Linked DNA regions of Homo sapiens: region 2 is linked to region 1. Evidence: promoter capture Hi-C in human tissues and cell types (Jung and others, 2019). All regions are on one chromosome and are shown on one strand. Each heading gives the region's core, a stretch centred on a gene start or on the middle of the fragment in contact. The rest is flanking DNA. Distances are from core to core; before and after follow the strand shown.

The links. Contacts are between HindIII fragments. The study calls those that stand out against the background at their distance.
Region 2: a contact is called between the fragment with the promoter of KRT16 here and the fragment with the promoter of KRTAP17-1 in region 1, in 2 of the 25 tissues and cell types used here (mesenchymal stem cells and mesendoderm cells).

What each region holds. Positions count from the first base shown.
Region 1 is chr17:41,314,428-41,317,002 of GRCh38, forward strand. KRTAP17-1 (keratin associated protein 17-1) reads right to left here and starts at 1,283. Exons shown (of 1, transcript NM_031964.2): 1 at 485-1,283. The coding sequence starts at 1,223. The coding sequence ends at 906. The HindIII fragment of the contact is 6,672 bases long and covers 1-2,575 here.
Region 2 is chr17:41,611,517-41,614,091 of GRCh38, forward strand. It overlaps KRT16 (keratin 16), which reads right to left and starts at 1,251. Exons shown (of 8, transcript NM_005557.4): 1 at 642-1,251; 2 at 123-205. The coding sequence starts at 1,172. RefSeq lists an enhancer at 2,282-2,575. The HindIII fragment of the contact is 12,932 bases long and covers 1-2,575 here.

The sequences.
Region 1 (2,575 bases), core at 33-2,532:
ACCATCCTAGGAGAGCTGTAGTGCAGAAGAAAGCCATGCCCCTCAATCACCATTAAATGTGGCCAGCATCAGCATTCACCCAGGAGCTTTTAAAAATGCAGGTCCCTAGGGACTCTAGGCCCTAGAGCTAACGGGTAAAATCTCCAGTGATAAAACCCAATGATCTATATTTTTAAAAGCTTTTCAAGTGAATCTCATGCAGCACACGGAAGCTTCCGTCTAGATCTATGGTTCTCAAACTTCAGTGCATAAGAATTATCTAAGGTTCTTGTTAAAAACACAGATTCCCAGGCCACACTTTGGTGGATTCTGATTCTGTATGTCTTAGGGAGGGCCTCAGAGTCTCCAGTTTTAACAAGCTCCCAGGTGATTCCGACGCAGGTGATCCAAAAACCACAATTCAAAAACCCTAAGGCAGATGCCAGAGTGAATTTTTCTAACCCAGTCCTCAGCAGGGAGGTCAAGGAAGAGGCAAGAGAACTAATTAGGTTATGCCAGCATGCTCAAATTTATTAAGAGGCTCACAAAGAAGATGGACCTTTTTTGCATCTCAAAGCTGCAGAAAGCCAGGGCGGAGGATCAGTCCCAAAGACACCTTGAAGAAGAGGATGTCTTATAGTACAAGACATTGAACTTCATGTGAATAAGTAAAGTATTGGGGATTCACCCTTGAGCTTGGGATCACTTAGTTGTGACCGAGTTTTAATGTTTCATCAGAGTATGGCTCTTGTTCTCGGTGCCTTGAAATACCAGAGAAGGTGTTGGAGAACAAGCCCTCCTCTACAAATCACAGAAAGACAAGACACTGTCTTGGGGGTATGGAAGGTTCTGGACACGAGGGGCTGTCCCCCTGGAGCAGATGGAGGCTTTCGGTGGGACTGCATCAGTGGTGGAGGGAAAGGTCTTCATTTTGTGTCGCATATAGGTGTGGGCTGGCAGCACACAGGCCCACAGCACCCGGAGCCGCAGCAACTGGACCCACAGCAACTGGATCCACAGCAGCCACCCCCGCAGCCTCCGCAGCCTCCACAGCCTCCGCAGCCAGATCCACAGCAAGACGATCCGCAGCAGCTGCCCCCGCAGCCAGAGCCCCCGCAGCCAGAGCCCCCACAGCCACAGCAGGAGCCGCAGCAGCCACAGCAGCCCGGCTGACAGCAGCACTCTTCACAGCAGTTTTGCTCCTGGGTGCAGCAGGTGAAGCAGTCCCCCGGGCAGCACCCCATGGTCCGGGCCCGTCAGCTCGCAGGTCGGTAACGCAGCCGGAGTTCCCCACGACTGACGGTGGCCAGCCATCTGGATGGCAGCTTTTATATCCCCTCACCCAGGCATGAGGGACGGGATGTTTTCTTTGTTATTATTTATGCAAGTTTCCATAAGACCGGCTCATTAACTGGCTGTTTATTTTCCAGTCCTGAGTACCTCAACTCATAAAAACGCCCCACTCCTGCCAACTGCTGTTTATCCAGAGGGTAAAAATACATCTTCGAAAAGACCTGTCATCATGGCCAAGCATCTGCCAGCTGTCATTAGCCCAGGTTGGAGATGGGAAGGGGAAGCCGGCCACAGCTTCTGGCTCTGGAATGAGGGGCTTGCCTTCCACATCTTCGCAGGTTGGCGATGGACCCCATCTTCCATGGATGCTAGTCCTGGAAAGGCAGACCGGCAACAGCCGAATGCTCTGTTCCCCCTGACACCAGTGGAGGCTACTGAGAACGCCTGGTCACGTGGCTCCTCCCAGGTGGAAATGGCATCCTCATCCCGGTTCATGTGAGCCAGGCAAATGTTTGTGTCTGTGTGTGGTATGGGGAGTGTGCCACACGTTTAGGCTTGGCCGGTGAGCATCAGTCATGAGTAATAACTGCCCTGTGAAACCGAGAGAGACTCATCGTAAAGCTGCAAGAAGCTGGTAAGGCATGGTCTGTCTCGGCGGCAAGGTGAGCTGAATATTCGCACTTCTCTCTAAATAGGTGGGAAGAACTGAGATCAGAACCCTCTACCCACCCCCACTCCAGCCCCAGGCCTTTCCTTGACCGGGGAAGGAAGAGATGCAGGAGGAGGAAGAAGAGGAGAAGGGGAGGAAGAAAGGAAAGAAGAAAAGAAAGAAGAAAGCAGGAAGGAGATCAGTAAATATCCAAAATGCTACATTAAAATGGGAATGTAACGCACTTTTTTTAAGAGTTCGAACCTTATAGACCATCTGGCAGAAGGAGAAATTAGAATACAAAATACCCAGAGTGTCATCCCAAGGAATAAAATGCCTTTGCAAGGAGTCTAAAATCTACAGATGGTTCAGGTCCATGTGTAAATTTTGAGATGGGTCAAAATTTCTGTCTCTTTCTTGGACTTTGGTACCTTGTTCTCCTCTTGGAGTGCCCATGGCAGCCCTGGAGCTGGAATACAACATCTAGTAGGGGTAGAGGACAGAAGATAGGGGTGGGGTGGGAATGGAAGGAGGGATGGGAGTAAGGATCTGGATCAAGGGATCTAGTCCTTCCCTTTTCATTTCCCTTTCTTTGTAAGATGGGCTAGAAGTAAGACAGCCTCTAAGAAGGGCTAGAAGAACTAAGGACAGGGT
Region 2 (2,575 bases), core at 1-2,500, 300 kb after region 1:
TCAGGTCCTCAGGCTGCAGCCCTGAGGATTCTGAGGCTCGGGGTCTGCTGGCCCTGCTGGGTGGACCGCCCCACTCTTTGTCCCTTGCCCTCTGCCCCCAGCCCACCATGCTGGCTGCTCACTTGGTCCTGAAGTCATCGGCTGCCAGCCTGGCATTGTCAATCTGCAAAATGGGCTGCGCATTCTCAATGGTGGCCGCAATGATCTGGAGTGGGGATGGAGGACAGGAGCCCTGGTCAGCCAAGGACCTTACTACTTGAGCATGAAAGGCAGAAAGGGGCAAAAGGAACCGCCCCAAATCTGGAAGTCTTCTGGCTGGCAGGGCTGGCATGCCTTCTCCACCAGCTCAGGCTACGTAGGGATGCACTCCATCCCGATCACCCCCTTCCTGGGCCCAAGGCAGGGAAGCTGAACTTGCAGCTGAACCCTTGAAGGAAATAAGAGATTTAGGGTAACAGCCCCAGTCCGGGCACAGAGATACTGAAAAGGGACCCTCTGCTACCACTTCCCTGGGTGATCCTGGCCACTCCCCAAAGGTGCCCAGTCTCCCTGTTTGTAAAGTGTAATTGCTAAAAAGAGGTATCCCAAGGGCCACTGTAGCCCCAGCCTCTCTCAGTGCTCCATACACCAAAGTCACCCACCTTGTTCCTCAGGTCCTCGATGGTCTTGAAGTAGGGACTGTAGTCTTTGATCTCACTGGGCCGCTGCCTCTGGTACCAGTCACGGATCTTCACTTCCAGGTCGGCGTTGGCCTCCTCCAGAGCACGCACCTTGTCCAGGTAGGAGGCCAGGCGGTCATTGAGGTTCTGCATGGTCACCTTCTCACTGCCCACCAGAAGCCCATCACCACCAGCAAAACCACCACCAAAGCCAGCACCCAAGCCACCACCGAAGCCAGCACCAAGGCCACCACCATATCCTCCCCCGAAGCCACTACCAAAGCTGCTGCTGCTGCTGAAGCCACCGCCATAGCCGCCCCCCAGCCCGCAGGCTCCCCCAGAGGAGAAGCGAGAGGAGACAGACAGGCCGCCCCCGTAGGTGCTGGGGGCACGGCAGGACCCTCCGGCCAGGACGGAGGAGATGCGGCTGGAGCCGCCCCCGATGCCGCCTCCGATGCCGCAGGAGCCCTTCATGGAGCTGGAGGAGGTGAACTGGCGGCTGCAGGTGGTCATGGTGCCAAGGAGGGAGGTGAGCGAGTGAGCAGTTGGCTGAAAGAAGGAAAGGTGCTCAGGAAGGCTGAGAGCGTGCTGTGGCTGCCTCCAACCCCAGAGACCTTTATATGCAGCTGGGGAAGGCGGGGCCCTCCTAACTGCTGACTCCAGGTTCCCCTCTGGATTTCATCACTCCCGGTCCCGTCCAACTCCTCACTCTGGATTATTCAGCCCAGGATCAACTCTGCTGTGTGCCGGCTCAGAGTTCCCACCCAGCTTTGGGGGTGTGGGGCCGAGAGAAAAACACAGAAATGCGAGTTCGGTGGTGACTCAGGCTAGGCGGTGGGGAATCAGGCTCCCTTTCCTGGAGCCCTCGGGGCCAGTCGGGCCTTGGCACAGGTGGCTTTGTGGCAACTGCGTCCCCAGGCAGTGAGTCAGCCCTTCAGAAGAACTCCCTGCCCCACAGTGACAGCCTTGGCTGAAAGAGAGCTCAGTGATGCCATCCTGGGCTGTCTTGGGGAGCAGTTGTGGGGATCCCACATGTCCCACTCTGGGCAGGGGCAGAGTTCCTGTCTTCACTCTGCTTGCTGTGTGGCCTGAGGCTCCCCACCTCCCACCTCTGGGCCTGTTTCCCCTCAGTGACCAGGCTGGACTGGGTGACTGCAGAGTCCCTTCTGTTCTAAAAATCCTATAACTCTCTTTCCCCTCTTGGATCTAATTCCAGTTCCAGAGGCTGCCTTGAGCCCCCGGGATCTCCAGAAGTGTGTGCACCATACAAACAGCACTGGCCATGGAGCTAGACAGGCGGCACTGAGTCCCTGCTCTGCCCTTACCAACTGTACAGCACAGGCTGGTCCTATAGCCCCTTGGTCCTCAGTTTTCTCATCTGTAAAAGGGGATGACACACCACTAGCCACAAAGAAACATGCGCGAAGGACCCCACCGGCCCTTCCCCGAGGGCCAGCCCTGCCCCTCAGCCTCCCCATCCTGCCCCTCCAGCCACCTGCTCCTCACACTCACCTCTACACACTGGCACCATCCCGCACCCCTAAGCAGGGCCCTGCGCCCCCCACACTCCCAGCTGAAGAACACCACAGCCCCACACCTAGCTCTGCCACTCCTCTACCGCCCTCTCCTAATCACAGGCACCCCACCTGCAGGCTGGTGGGAGGGAGCCCCATCCTGCCACTACAGCCAGGTATGACCCCTGACCCCACCTGGGCCTCAGAGTCCCCCCCTACCCTGTAGAAACAGGACTAGCCGGGGATCCGTTCCCAGCAGTTCTCTCTCCTGTGTCCACAGATCCCAGGCTAGGCCTGGCAGCTCCATTCATCCAGCTGAGCTGGGGGAGAGCACTGGTTATGGGCCCACTCAGGCATGCATGGAGAGCCCAGTGTGTGCCATACAGTTCTGTGAGCGTAGAG